Linked DNA regions of Homo sapiens: region 2 is linked to region 1. The links are contacts of gene promoters, found by promoter capture Hi-C in human tissues and cell types (Jung and others, 2019). All regions are on one chromosome and are shown on one strand. The core of a region is centred on a gene start or on the middle of the fragment in contact, and the rest is flanking DNA. Distances in the headings are between cores, read along the strand shown.

What was found. Contacts are between HindIII fragments. The study calls those that stand out against the background at their distance.
Region 2: the fragment with the promoter of FBXO27 here is called in contact with the fragment with the promoter of FAM98C in region 1 in 1 of the 25 tissues and cell types used here (heart left ventricle).

The regions. Positions count from the first base shown.
Region 1 is chr19:38,398,787-38,406,330 of GRCh38, forward strand. It overlaps FAM98C (family with sequence similarity 98 member C), which reads left to right and starts at 4,307. Exons shown (of 8, transcript NM_174905.4): 1 at 4,307-4,432; 2 at 4,552-4,700; 3 at 4,774-4,908; 4 at 6,122-6,327; 5 at 6,558-6,635; 6 at 6,733-6,849. The coding sequence starts at 4,368. SPRED3 (sprouty related EVH1 domain containing 3) reads left to right here. Exons shown (of 6, transcript NM_001394336.1): 6 at 1-801. RefSeq lists silencers at 1,373-1,531, 4,094-4,423, 4,614-4,813. The HindIII fragment of the contact is 13,651 bases long and covers 1-7,544 here.
Region 2 is chr19:39,026,196-39,033,934 of GRCh38, forward strand. FBXO27 (F-box protein 27) reads right to left here and starts at 6,354. Exons shown (of 6, transcript NM_178820.5): 1 at 6,308-6,354; 2 at 5,669-6,058; 3 at 5,014-5,125; 4 at 4,834-4,929; 5 at 675-810. The coding sequence starts at 6,032. RefSeq lists enhancers at 4,933-5,042, 5,449-6,241 and silencers at 5,151-5,333, 5,183-5,422, 5,573-5,652, 5,853-6,002, 6,063-6,132. The HindIII fragment of the contact is 13,585 bases long and covers 4,870-7,739 here.

The DNA.
Region 1 (7,544 bases), core at 3,057-5,556:
TTCATTACCCAGACTTGGATGGCCTTGTTGGGGTTCAAGGGATAGGTCCTCTGTCTCTTCCTTTAAATTATTAACTATTTATTACATCCGGAACCTGTGAGATTCAGCACTCCCAACCAGACCCTGGGATGGGTGAGAGAAAAGCGGGGGTGTCTCTCCCCTCCCCACTCTGCCCAGCTCTCATCACTGTCAGACCCACCAGAGCTGAGGGCGGAGGGATTGGGGGCTGGGGCAGCCTGGGTCCCCATGCCCCTCTCTGTGCCTCGGTCTCCCCCCTTCCATGGTGGGCGGGGGGGAAGCTCCATTCTTAACCTACCTCGTTTTGGGGAGGGGTGGGACGGGGGACCAGAGTGCTGTACGGTGCTGTGGGATCTGCAGATGAAGCGGTGGGGGCTAAGGAAAGGTCCCCTGGCCGCCACTTCCCAGCAGCGCCTCTCCCAGGTCCCCCAGTCCTGCTCCCTGCTGAGACCCACCTCTGATCCATGATTCCCCTTCATTGCCCCCAAATCAGGGGTACATGGAGGGCCGCCCTGGGAGCCAGGCAGACCTCAGACCCTGGAGCCCCCAGGCCCAATTTCCCAGCCGCTTGCCCCTCAGATCGGATGCTTGGCCCCCAGATTTGGGGGAGGCACCCCAACATATATCTTCCTGATCTTGTTTCTAAGCCAGTCTGTGACCTCAATATTGTTAGTGTCAGTGCAGGCTGAAGTGGTGGGGGAGGATGGGGGCCAAAGACCCAGCCTTGTCATCGGGGGAGGGGGCACGAGATCTGCTCCAAGAAATGTCTGTGACAAAGTCTCAGCCTGTGTTATTTATTTGCCTCTGTGCACCCCACCCACTCACCTTCCTGAACTGCTAAACCAGTCTCCTACTTAAATTCTCCCTTCTCCCATCAGACCCTCAAGCTGAGTTTTATAAGACACTCAACAAATGCATTTATTGAGCACCTAATTATGTGCCAAGCCCTGTTGAAAGCACTGGAGATAAAGCAGTGGGCAGAACAGACAAAAGTCCCTCCTGCAAAGAGCTTATGAGCTTTATAGTAGGGGAGACAATAAGTAAATGACTTAATATGTTAGAAATGATAGAAAGCAGAAAGAAAAAAAAAAGTGGGAATGGGGGATACATGCCATTTTAGCTAGAGTGGCCAGGTTAGACCCTCCTCAGGAGTTGGCATTTGTTGTTTTGAGACAGAGTCTGACTCGGTCACCCAAGCTGGAGTGCAGTGGCATGATCTCTGCTCACTGCAGCCTCTGCCTCCTGGGTTCAAGTGATTCTCCTGCCTCAGGCTCCTGAGTAGCTGGGACTGCAGGTGGGTGCCACAACGCCCGGCTAATTTTTGTATTTTTAGTGGAGTCAGGGTTTCACCATTTTGGCCAGGCTGGTCTCGAATTCCTGACCTCAAGTGATCCACCTGCCTTGGTCTCCCAAGTGATTCCAGGTGGAAATCTCCCAAGTGATTACAGGTGTGAGCCACTGTGCCTAGCCAGGAGCTGGCATTTGAACAAAGCCCTGACGGAGGTGAGGGAGTTCTGGGGATGTCTGCAGGGAAGGGTATTTTAAGTAAAGGGAACAGCCAGTGCAAGGCCCTGAGACAGGAGTGTGTCCGGTAAGTCTGAGGAGCTTCAGGGAGCTAGAGTGTTGAGAGGGGAGGAAGCAGAGAAGAGAGCGCTAGGAGATGAGGGCAGAGAGGCGATGGGGCAGATCTGTCAGGCCTTGAAGGGCATTGAATGGACTTAGGTTTTTACCCTGAGTGAGACGGAGCCACAGGAAATTTCAAACATGGGAGGCATGTGACCTGACTCAGTTCACAGGCTCCTTCTGCTGCATGTGGTCAGCAGAGTAGGAGTGGGGTGGGGGACAGCTTCACAGAGAGGAGGCTGCTGTGATGGTTCAGGACAAGACAGCAGCGGACAGGCCCAGGGTGAGGGCCCTGAAGGGTGGAGAAGTGGGCAGGTGTTGGGCCTACTTTGTAAATAGAACCCACAGATTTATGTATGGGATTTGAGATAGAGGAGTCAAGATAGTAAGTCCAGGTTTTTGGCTGGAGCAATTTTTTTTTTTGTTTTAAATTGAGTTCATCACCCAGGCTGGAGTGCAGTGGCATGATCACTGCTCATTGCAGCCTCAAACTCATGAGCCCAAGTGATCCCCCCACCTCAGCATCCCGAGTAGCTGGGATTACAGGTGCACACCACCAAGCCTGGCTAATTTTAAAAATGTTTTTGTAGAGACATGTTCTCACTATGGTGCCTGGTCTGGTCTTAAACTCCTGGGCTCAAGCGATCCTCCCACCTCAGCCTCCTGAAAGGCGGGGATTACAGGTGTGAGCCACTGTGGCCCACCTCTGGGCAATTTTTAACATTTGATTTATGTCAAAAAATAGCCCCCCAAGTGTCCTGCCTTGGGGTAAACAGGGTTATGGGGTTACTCGTATCTGCCCTTAAGGAACAAGTTCTACCCCTGTTCTTCCCTCCAGGCTCCTGGTCCACCCCCAACTTCCAGCAGAATTGTCTAGGAACTACTGGATACCAGGATACAGTAAGGAAGAGATTAGATCTGACACAATGTTTACTTAGCAACAGCAACAAAACAACAGCAGTAGTAACAGTGGAAATAGGTTCCGTGGTTTAAGAGTATAGAGTCTGGAATTTCATCTTCAAGCCTTGGCATCACCATGAATTCACTCTGTGACTTATCTTCTCTCAACCTTAGTTTTCTCTTCTGTAAAAGAGATAAGATACTTCGCCCAATAGTACACATTAAATGCTGTATATATATTAGTTATTCCTTATTAAGTACTCCCTATATATCTGCTAAGCACTTTTTACATATGAAACTCTAATTAATCCTCAGCAACAACTCTAAGAGGTAGGTACTATTATCCCCATTATACAGATGGGAAGCAATTTGGCAGGAACATGGAGCTGGCGAGTAACAGAATCAAGCCCTAACCCTTTGCCTGATTCCTAGGGTGTAATCTCTTAACCACTATGGTGCATTGCACCTGCTCACTCCAAGGCCTAAGAGGGAGAGGAGTGAAGGCCTAACAGGCACATCGTGATCGATGAGGAGGGCCTGGTGTGTGAGGGGTGTGCTGGGATTCCTGGGTCCCTTATGTAATTCAAACCCTGAGGTGGAAAGGAGGGAGGAAGTTTTGGATTTTAGGCAGAGTTGGGTGAACACCACTCCGTCTGGGCTGCTTTAAGAGCAGAGGACAGGGCCAGGAACACTGGCTCAAGCCTGTAATCCCAAGCTTTGGAAGGCTGAGAGGGAAGGATTGCTTGAACACTGGAGTTAGAGGCAAACCTGGGCGACATAGCTAGACCCCTCTCTACAAAACTTTATTTCTTTTTTGACACGGAGTCTTGCTCTGTCCCCAGGCTGGAGTGCAGTGGCGCGATCTTGGCTCACTGCAGTCTGTGTCTCCCGGGCTCAAGCAATTCTCCTGCCTCAGCCTCCCAAATAGTGGTGACTACAGGCGTGTGCCACCACGCCCGGCTAATTTTTGTATTTTTATTAGAGATGAGGTTTCACCATGTGCCCAGGCTGGTCTCGAACTCCTGACCTCAAGTGATCCACCCACCTCAGCCTCCCAAAGTGCTGGGATTACATGCGTGAGCCACCGTGCCCGGCCTCTACAAAACTTTAAAAAAAAAAAAAAATTGGCCGGTTGCAGTGGCTCACGCCTGTAATTCCAGCACTTTGGGAGGCCGAGGCAGGCGGATCGCTTGAACCCAGCAGTTGGAAACCAGGCTGGGCAACATGAGGAAACCTTGTCTCTACAAAAAAATTAAAAACAAATCAGCCAGGCGCGGTGGTCTGCGCCTGTGGTCCCAGCTACTAGGTGTAAGCCACCAAGGCTGACTGATTTTTAAAAATTTAGCTGGGAGGCTGAGGCGGGAGGATCTCTTGAGCCCAGAAGGTCGAGACTGCAGTGAGCCGCGATGGCGCCACTGCAGTCCAGCCTGAACGATAGAGCGAAATCTGCCTCAAAAACAAACCAACAAAACACCAGCAGAAGACAACTGAGGGAGGAAAAGGAAAATGGCACCGAAGTTGTTTTTATGTCGCCGCAACAGTGACACCCGCCGCCAGCTTGTCTTGACAGCGGAGATCCCGAACGCACTGCAATTTACAGCTCCAGGGGGCGTTCCTACAACCCCGACAGGTTAGCCGAGGGGCGGGGCGGGCGGGCCCCGGGGCGGGTTCGGCGTCCTCCTGCGCCAATGGGAGCACCCAAGCCCCTGCGCGGGAAGATGCCGATTGGTCAGTGCCGCCGGACGCTGCGGGGAGCTCGTGCGCGCGGCGCTTTTGGGGCGGAGCCTGCCACCGGCCGCCAGGGGGCGCGCCGAGACCACACTTTCATGGAGGCGGTGAAGGCGGAAGCGTGGGAGGGGGCCGCGGTGGCCCAGGACCTGCTGGCTCTGGGGTAAAAGGGTGTGCGGTGAGGCTGGTGGGTGCAGGAAGGCCAGGTCTGCCCCCTGGACGCGGACGAAAAGGGATTCCCAGTGACATCCCCGCCCCCTCCCGCTGCCTCGGTCCCCACAGGTATGGAGGTGTCCCGGGGGCGGCGTCGCGGGGCGCCTCATGCCCAGACTTCAGGGGGCTGTGCGTGCGGCTGGCGGCGGAGCTGGCGACGCTGGGCGCCCTCGAGCAGCAGCGAGAGGCGGGCGCGGAGGTGCTGAGCGCCGGCGACGGTAAACACGGAGCGGGAGGGTGGCAGGGGGGCCGCCACGGGGCCACCGAGCCCTGACACCCCTGTCCTCGCAGGCCCTGGCGCGGAGGAGGACTTTCTGCGGCAGCTCGGCAGCCTGCTGCGGGAGCTGCACTGCCCGGATCGCGCGCTCTGCGGCGGGGATGGCGCGGCTGCGCTTCGGGAACCCGGTGCCGGACTGCGCCTGCTGCGTGAGTCCCGGGATGCAGAAGTGGCAAGGCCATGGCCTCCGGAGCGGCGGGCTCTGACTTTTTAGGGGAAATCGAGGTTCCCAAGGGGTGTGGTCAGAACTTTGGGGCGGCCCAGAGGGTACGAGGTGGGTGGGGTGAGCATGTTGGGGCAAGCAGAGCGCTCTAAAATGGGCGGGGGTAGAATTTCGTTTTATTTTTTATTTATTTTATTATTATTATTTTTGAGATGGAGTTTCACTCTTGTTACCCAAGCTGGAGTGCAGTGGCGTGATCTCGGCTCACTGCAACCTCCACCTCCCAGGTTCAAGTGATTCTCTTGCCTCAGCCTCCCGAGTAGCTGGGATTACAGGCGCGCGACACCACACTCGGCTATTTTTAGTAGAAACGGGGTTTCACCATGTTAGCCAGGCAGGTCTCGAACTCCTGACCCCAGGTGATCTGTCCACCTCGGCCTCCCAAAGTGTTGGGATTACAGGCGTGAGCCCACCACGCCCGGCCCGGGGTTAGAATTTTAATTGGAGGGCCTAGGAGCTCAAGTGGGTTGGATTAGGAGGAAGGCTTGAGGTTTCAAAGTGGGCAGGAGTGGAATTCGTAGGAGGGGACAGGGTCTCAAGGTGGGGCTTACTCTGGAAGGCTTTAGGTGGGGGGGACTAGAAGGTGGAGGATTTTGTTTTGTTTTGTTTTTAAGTGGAGGTGGGGTCTCCCTATGTTGCCCTGTCTGGTCTTCAACTCCTGGCTTCAAGCGATCCTCCCACCTCAGCCTCCCAAGGTGTTGGGATTACAGGCTACAGGCATGAGCCACTGTGCCTGGGCAAAGGTGGAGGTTTTAAAGCCGGTGGAGCCTCTTTTTTTTTTGAAATGGAGTCTCGCCCTGTTGCCAGGCTGGAGTACAGTGACATGATCTCAGCTCACTGCAACCTCCAACTTCCTGGTTCAAGCGATTTTCCTGCTTCAGCCTCCCGAGTAGCTGGGATTACAAGCACTCACCACTATGTCCTGCTAATTTTTGTATTTTTAGTAGAGACACAGTTTCACCATGTTGGCCAGGCTGGTCTCCATCTCCTGACCTCGTGATCCGCCCGCCTCTGCCTCCCAAAGTGCTGGGATTACAGGTGTGAGCCACCGCACCCGGCCATCAGTGGAGCTTTTTGACCAAGATGGATGAGTGGGTAGCAGCCTCCCTGAGTGCACAGCACCCATTTATTACTTTCAGGCTTTCTCTGCTCAGAGCTCCAAGCCACCCGCCTCCTGTGCCTCCGCTCTCTGCTGGATCCGAGTCCTAGGCCACCCCTTGGTGAAGGGGTAGTGGAGGGAGCCGGCATGGTCCAAGAACTGGACCTTACCCTCCAAGCCCTGGGGCTGCCCAGACCTGCACCAGGGACCCCCGCCAGCCAGCTGCTGCAGGAGTTGCATGCTAAGGTAGAGAGTCAGAGTCCCCTCCCGACCTGGGCTACCCCACTTTCCTTGTGGGGGTGGGGGTCCTCTCTCCACTTCTGGAAGGAGTATTCCAACCACTGGCCTGTTTTTTCTGGAGCTGTGACTGGCATTCTCACATCTGTGGCCTAGGTCCTCAGGGGTGTGGGGAGCTGAGTTTACAGAGGGGCCCATCCTCTCTGCCCCAGTTGGCCTCTGACTTCTTCTCCCATCAGATCTCAGAGCTGCAGCCTTCTCTGCCCCCAGGGTCCCTGCAGCCCCTCCTCAGCTGCTCGCTAGATGCACCCAGATGGGTAAGACTGTGTGCGACTGACTGAATGTGAACTGTGTCCTCATCAGAGGTGGCAGTGAGAGGGACCCCTAGCCTGACCTTGAGACCTTTTCTCCCAGGAAGCGTTGGAGTCTCTGTCCCAAAGCCTCAGAGATCAGTACCGCTGCCGCCGCTGCCTCCTCCTCAAGCGCCTTGACCTCACTACATCTGCTTTCCACTGGAGTGACCGGGCAGAGGTGTGGTGGGCAGGGGACCATGCAGAATTGGAGAGGCCCAGTTGTGGGGGCTGCAGTTGCAGGGAGGAGGAATGAGGGCCAGGAGTATCACCCTCTTGCAGGTTCTCAGGCCATGGACATTTTATAATTTTTTGAGGTTTGGGGCTCCTAGAATCTCAGGGTCCCAGGGTATTGTTGAATTCCCAGCTCTGAGCTGGCAGTATATTCAGAGGCATACCCCATCATTTTTTTTTTTTTTTTGAGACGGGGTCTCACTCTGTTGCCAGGCTGGAGTGTGGTGGTGCGATCTCAGCTCACTGCAACCTCCGACTCCCGGGTTCAAGTGATTCTCCTGCCTCAGCCTCCTGAGTAGCTGGGATTACGGGCACATGCCACCATGCCCAGCTAATTTTTGTATTTTTAGTAGAGACAGGGTTTCACCATGTTGGCTAGGATGGTCTCGATCTCCTGACCTTGTGATCTGCCTGTCTTGGCCTCCCAAAGTGCTAGGATTACAGGCATGAGCCACTGCACCCAGCCTTTTTTTTTTATTTTTTATTTTTTGAGACGGAGTTTTGCTTTTGTTGGCCACGCTGGAGTGCAATGGTGCGATCTTGGCTCACCGCAACCTCCGCCTCCTGGGTTCAAGTGATTTTCTTGCCTCAGCCTCCCGAGTAGCTGGGATTTCAGGCATGCACCACCACGCCGGGCTAATT
Region 2 (7,739 bases), core at 5,104-7,603, 630 kb after region 1:
ACATGAGCAATCTGACTGCCTAGGAGCCGCCATGGTGTGAGGAAGCCCAAAGGAGCCCAAGCAGAGAGATCCCATGGAGAAGCTCTGAGACTAAATGAAGAAAGAGATGTTTGGCCAGCCACCAACAGCTACACACATACTACCCACCACCCTGGCCTGCAGCTCCAGGCATCATCAGAATGTCACTGTCTGAACGCTGAAAGACAGGAGCCAGAACTGCCCAGGTAAGCCCTCCTGAAATTACTGACTCACAGAAATCACGAGAGGTAGTCAAATGACTGTCATTGATTTTTTTTTTAGACAGAGTCTCGCCCCGTCACCCAGGCTGGAGTGCAATGGCGCAATCTTGGCTCACTGCAACTTCTGCCTCCCAGATTCAAACGATTGCCTGCCTCAGCTTCCCGAGTAGCTGGGATTACAGGCATGTGCCACCACGCCCAGCTAATTTTTGTATTTTTAGTAGAGATGGGGTTTCACCATGTTGGCCAGGCTGGTCTTGAACTCCTGACCTTGTGATCCGCCTGCCTTGGCCTCCCAAAGTGCTGGGATTACAGGTGTGAGCCACCGCACCCAGCCAGACTGTCACTGATTTTAAGCCACTAAGTTTTGGGGTGATTTATTTTGCAGCAATAGGCCCCCAGCATCCTTTCCCCAAACCCCCATAGGAGACTCACGTGAAGGCAGGCATTGTTGTTCCACTGCGGGATGGGATCAGGCACAGCAGAGAATTTATCTAGAACAGTCTGGTTGGCGTCTAGAAGTTGGACGAGGAGTCTGTACATACAGCCGCTGTCGTGTCGGGCTCCCCACCTGTGGGAGGAAGGAGCCATGAAGGCTGGACCTGCCACCCCATCTCTTTGGGTGTCTGCCTACCTTGTCCGAATGCCCTTCCCATGTGTGCAAATCCAGTTCCTCTAAAGAGACTCCTGGGAGGTGATCTCTGGACCTTTGGAATGTTGTGTCAGACAGGAGTGTCTTTGATGGGGACCCAGGTGGTACTGGATAATCTACCAATATGATTTAGGGCAGGGGCCAGCCACACTCATATAAATAGTCTCAGTGGGGAGTCTCCGGAAAGACCCACAATGTGACTTTCGGTGGGGGCTGGGAGTCAGGGAACGTCAGTTGACCTGGAGGCTGAGATTAACCACGTGGGCAATCGATCAATCCATCAGGCCTTGTGATGAACCCAAGAAACACTCTGGACACCGAGGCTCAAGTGAACTCCCTTGGTCAACAAAATTCCATGCATCTTGTCACACATCAGTGCCAGCACGGTAACATGTCCTGATGCCATGGGAGAAGGACAACAGAAGCTCTGTGTTTGATCTTTTCCCTGGATGCTGCTCTATGCCCTCCTTTTCTTGGCTGATTTTAATCTGTATCTTTTCCCTGTAATAAACCAGAAGTGTGTAGTAGCTTTCTGTGAGTTCGTCCAGTGAATTATTGAATTGTGAAGGTGGTTTTGGAAGTCCTCCAAACTTGTAGTTGGTAAAGATGTAGAGATGGGGTTTTGCCATGTGACCCAGGCTGGTCTTGAACTCCTGGACTCAGGCGATCTTCCTGCCTCCGCCTCCCAAAGTGTTGGGACTATAGGCGTGAGCCACCATGCCCAGTCAGATTTTGTTTTTAATTATTACTCATCAAACTACATAACATATTTGTGTTGTTGTGACATATCATGTCAGAAGCGAGGATGGTCTTAGGGATTCCATCCCCGAACTTTGTAGCAAGCTCTAAACTTCTCACAAATATTGATGCCTGTCTGGGCGAGGTGGCTCACGCCTGTAATCCCAACACTTTGGGAGGCCGAGGTGGGTGGATCACTTGAGGTTAGGAGTTCGAGACCAGCCTGGCCAACATGGTGAAACCTTGTCTCTACTAAAAATACAAAAATTAGCCAGGCGTGGTGGCAGGTGCCTGTAATCCCAGCTACGAGGCAGGAGAATCGCTGGAACCCAGGAGGCAGAGGTTGCAGTGAGCTGAGATCGCACCATTGCACTCCAGCCTGGGCGATAGAGGGAGACCCTGTCTCAAAAACAAAAAACAAACAAATATTGGTGCCTGGCTCTCACCCTCAGATGCTCAGATTTAATGGGTATGAATGGTGCCTGGGCATTTTATGTTTTAAAAGCTACCTTTATGAGGTGCGGCAAAATTTGGGAGCCACTGATTATCACAATCAAATAGTACCCACTGATCAAAACAACACAAATATGTTACATAGTTTGATAAGTAATAACAAAAAATAAAATCTGGCCAGCCGTGGTGGCTCACACCTGTAATCCCAGCACTTTGGGAGGCAGAGGTGTAAGGACTGCTTGAATCCAGGAGTTCAAGGCCAGCCTGGGTGACATGGCAAAACCCCGTCTCTACAGAAAATATGGCTGGGCATGGTGGCTCACACCTGTAATCCCAGGACTTTGGGAGGCAGAGGCGGGCAGATCACCTGAGGTCAGGAGTTCGAGGCCAGCCTGGCCAACGTGGCCAAACCCCGTCTCTACTAAAAATACAAAAATTAGCCAGGCGTGGTGGTACACACCTGCAATCCGAGCTACTGGGGAGGCTGAGGCAGGAGAATCACTTGAATCCAGAAGGCAGAGGTTGCAGTGAGCTGAGATTGTGCCATTGCACTCCAGCCTGGGTGACAAGTGAAACTTTGTCTCAAAAAAACAAAAAATTCAAAAATTAGCCAGGCATGTAAAATTAGCCAGTATGCACCTGTAGTCCCAGTTACTCAGGAGGCTGAGGTGGGAGGATTTTTTGAGGCCAGGTGGTAGAGATTGCAGTGAGCCGAGATCACGCCACTGCACTCCAGCCTGGGTAAAAGAGCAAGACTCTGTCTCTAAAAAAAAAAAAAAAAAAAAAAATCTTATTGGAGATGTATCTCTTAATGAGATGGAGTTGGGGAATAGGGTTATGGTGCCTTGATTAAGAGTGAATTTGCTGGCCAGGCACAGTGGCTTATGCCTGTAATCCCGGCACTTTAATAGGCTGAGGTGGGCAGATCACCTGAGGTCAGCAGTTCAAGACCAGCCTGGGCAACATGGTGAAACCCCATCTCTACTAAAAATAAAAAAAAATAGCCAGGTGTGGTGGTGCACACCTGTAATCCCAGCTACTCGGGAGGCTGAGGCAGGAGAATCACTTGAATCTGGGAGGTAGAGGTTGCAGTGATCTGAGATTGCACCATTGCACTCTAGCCTGGGCCACCTAGTGAGACTCTGTCTCAAAAAAAAAAAAAAAAAAAGTGAATTTGCTAAGGCCCCAAATTTCCAATGGCCACTTTGCCTGGCTCCCCAGTAGTCCTTACATCTGGGGACCACACCTTAGTGAGGGGCTTTTTTCCTATAAAACTAGAGAAGGGGGACACTGAGAAAGAGATTGGGGAACGAGAATCATATGATACTTCCCACACAGATGTAACCTATAGCAGATTAATTGTGTAATAGGGGGCTCATGGCTGTAGTGGACCTGGAATTTGACTCCCATAAAACCATCTGGGTCATATATCCCCTGGAAAGTCTTCATGCACCCCAGTTTCAAGACCATCACTACAGAGGACAAGCTCTGGAGTCAGAATCTGACTCTGAGCCTTATGCCAGGTTCTGCCAAGCCCAGGCTGTGTGACCAGACCAGGGCAAGTCATCTCCCCTTTCTTTTTTTGATGGAGTCTCGCTCTGTTGCCCAGGCTGGAGTGCAGTGGTGCCATCTCAGCTCACTGCAACCTCCACTTCCCGGGTTCAAGTGATTCTCCTGCCTCAGCCTCCTGAGTAGCTGGGACTACAGACACTTACCATGACGCCCAGCTAATTTTTTGTATTTTTAGTAGAGATGGGTTTTGCCATGCTGGCCAGGCTGGTCTCGAACTCCTTAGCTCAAGAGATCTGCCCACCTCGGCCTCCCAGAGTGCTGGGATTACAGGCATGAGCCACCGTGCCCAGACTGCCATCTCCCCTTTCCCAACCTCTCAATTTCCTGAGAAGCTCTGAATGATCTGAGGGCTTGAAATACACCTTCCCACAGGATCAAGGTTCAAAAAAAGGTGCTCACATAAAGTACTTGCTATGTGTTTGCCATATAATAATTGTCATTGCAAGAGCCCTATCTTGTAAACAGGGGAAACAGAGGTATGCTGTGACTTGCCCAAGGCTACAAAGCCACAGAGCTAGGGTTTGAATCTGGGAGGTCTGGCTCCAGAACCTAAGCTCTTGGCTAACTATGCTGTTTTCTCCTCCTAAGGCAAGGAGCATCTCATTCATTCACAGACAAGACTGAGCTGGGCCAAAGGTCTCTGTACTGGATCTCATCTTCTGTCTTCCAATCCACATCCTTTTGGGCATGAGCAGAAAGTGTGTACTCTGCTAATTACTAGAACTGTGAGTGTGTTTTTCACTTCACCTCCCTGAACTTCAGTTTCTTTTCTTTCTTTTTTTTTTCCAGGACTGAGTCTCACTCTGTCGTCCAGGCTGGAGTGTAGTGGTACAACCTCCACCTCCTGGGTTCAAGTGATTCTCCTGCCTCAGCCTCCCAAGTATGTGGGACTACAGGTGTGCACTACCAGGCCCGGCTAATTTTTTTTTTGTATTTTTAGTAGAGACGAGGTTTTGCCATGCTGGTTGGGCTGGTCTCGAACTCCTGACCTCAAGTGATCTGCCTGCCTCGACCCCCCAAAGTGCTGGGATTATAGGTGTGAGCCACCATGGCTGGCCTGAACTTCAGATTTTTTATCTGTAAGGAGGGGTTAGGAGGCCTAAATTAAGTCACCCATAAAAAGGCCATGTCACATGCAGTCAGTGCTTAGCAAGGGGCTATTTTAATCGTCACACTCACCAGTCAGAGACACAAATCTCAATCCTGCCACTATCCAGCAGTTCTGGCCACAGACCCTCCTCCTCTAGGTCCAAGACCTGCTTCTTGCAACACCAGCTGGGAATGCAGGAGACAGGGTAATGAGAACAGGCAGGCCTTTCTCAACAAGGGGCCGGACCTTTGGATAGCAGGGGCATTCACCTGAATGAAGTCACGAAGCACGTCTGAGAAGGGGCCCCAGGCACGGTTGTCCTGTTTTCCTCCACCACCCAGCCGTCCCCACCGTGTTGCACCATCCACTTTCGGAGGCCTTCTGTGAAATAAAAAAGGCTTGTGCCCAAGTTCCAGTCGCCCGCCTGTTGGTTCCTAGTGAGACCCCGCCCCTAGCCCCTCCCACGTGCTCACAGTGCAGCTCACTCACCTGACCCTTCCCACCGAGGCCCCGCCCCCTTCCCCTCCCACCAGCTCAGGGCAAAGCCCCGCTCCTCTGGCCCTTCTCACTGATTTGCAGCAAAGCCCTGCCCCTCCAACCCCTCTCTCGGGCTCCCAGAACTGCCCCACTCCCACCCCTCCCACAGGCAAACGGTGAAGCCCTGCCCAGTCAGCCCTGCACCCTGCGTGCCAATGCTGCCTCGTCCCTCCGACACCTCCCACCGGCTCCCAATGCTGCCCCGCCCCTCCGGCACCTCACACCGGCTCCCAATGCTGCCCCGCCTCTCCGACTCCTCCCACCGGTCCCACTGCGGCCCTGCCCCTGCGGCCCCTAGTACCGGTCCCAGTGCGGCCCCGCCCCTCCGGCCCCGCTACCGCTCCCACTGTGGCCCAGCATCCTGGACTTCCTCTTCCGAGATCCCACCTTGGCCGCAGGGGTTGCGAATAAGGTTGCGTCCGATGGGTCTGCGCGCGCAGAAGCGGCCCAGGGGGCAAGGCCTGGCGTTACGGGCGGGAGACTGGCAGCTGCGGGCGAGGTGCAGCAGCGCGCGGCCGGTGGCGCCGTGGTCGCGGGCCAGGATCAGCAGCCACAGGGCCTGGCCGTCCACCAGGGCTCGCCAGCCCCGGCACACTTGGCGGCAGCGCCCGAGCAGCGTGCGCGGGGGGACGTGGCTCAGCACCACCAGAAGCAGCTCTGGGGGTAGTTGGCTCAGGTCCAGCGCCTCTTCGGGTTCCGGCTCCGGCGCGGGGACCCGGGCGGCCCGGCCCCTGGAGACCGAGGCGCCCATGGTCCCCCCGCCAGGCCCGGCTGTGGCTGCGGGAGAGGAAGGGTCAAGGCGTCAGGGACCAGCAGCCTCCGCGGCGCGCAGCCTCTGCCTGCCCTGATTCTGCCAGCCGCACCCCCGTCTTCACCATCCCTGGGCCCCGTCCCCAAGTCCCCATCCCCCAGCCCGTCCTTGATAGCCCCGATATCCCGGAGACCCCGCGGTCTGTGTGTATGCCCCGAATTGCATGCAATCAGCCCCCCTCGGCGGCCGCACCGACACCGCACCCCAAGTCCTACCCCGGGGCCTGGCGGCGCTCCTCGCCGGGATGCCCTAGCTGTGCCGCAAGCTCCCCACGCCCCTCTGCGTCCTTTTTACTCGCCGGCCCCTCCCCTCTTACTAGCCAGCTTCACCCACCCCTGCATCCTCTTTCTTACTCGCCAGCCCCTCCCGCCTGCTCCCTCCCGCTCTCCAAACCCAACCTGCTTCCCGCGACGGGGCCAGGTGCAGCCAGGAGCCAAGGCCTGCTGCTCACAGCCGTCCCCTCCAGCCGGCCCCTTGAAGTGTCCCTAATTCGTTAGTAGCAATGAGACGTCTGGCTCTGAGCAACCATTGTTATTTTGGTCAGGCTTCTGAGTGGGAGGCCTCGTATCCGTTAACGTGTTAAAAAATTTCCATCACCTTTAAGGTCGGGCGTGGTTATCTTCATTTCACAGGAGAAAACAGGCTCCGGCTGCTAAAAATTAATGCAACCAATAGTAACACCAGCCAACTTTTATGGACGGTTTTACTGCCAGCCAGGGTGGCAACCCCATGAAGTAGGTGCTGTTATGCCCTTTACTTCACAGGTGAAAAAACTGAGACCAGCAGAGGCCAAGTGGCTTGTCTATGATCACCAGCTAGTAGGGATTTGAATCCAGCCAGCCTAGCTCCGGAATTCCTCATTTTAACCTCTAGATCAGCTCTGTCCAATAAAAATACAATTGTGGCTGGGTGCGGTGACTCATGCCCGTAATCCCAGCACTTTGGGAGGCCAAGGCAGGCGGATCGCTTGAGGTCAGAAGTTCGAGACCAGCCTGGCCAACATGGTGAAACCCCGTCTCTACTAAAAATACAAAAATTAGCTGGGCGTGGTAGCACGCGCCTGTAATCCCAGCTAATTTGGAGGCTTAGGCAGGAGAATTGCTTGAATCCGGGAGGGGGAGGTTGCAGTGAGCAGAGATTGCACCACTGCACTCCAGCCTGTGCAAAAGAGTGAGTGAGACTCCGTCTCAAAAAACAAACAGAAAAAAAAAATTGTGAAAGTTGATCATGTGAATTGGATCCTTCTTGTCATATCCAACTAAAACAAAGTTGAGAGGCCGGGGGGAAAACACTTAGGGCAGATACCATTGCTCCAAGAAAGTGATTCTCTGCAAGCCTGGCTGTTAAAACTGCCTGTTGTAACCTGGAAGCAGTCTAACTGGTACTGAAAAAACCTGCCGTGACTCTAAGACTAGTTTTTCCCTCTGCTGTCACTTACCAGTCAGAACTTGCCAGCTCCCCAGAACGTTGCTAGTGTCAATGAACTTTCTTGCAAAACAATACCTAACATTTCTGTTTCTTATAAAAACCTCTAACCTCTTTGTTCTTTGAAAGTTCTGAAGACCGCCTGGTCTGTGTGGATGCCTCGAATGTCAATTCTTGCTTCCCAAATAAAACATTTTATTATTTTTTTGAGACAGAGTCTCG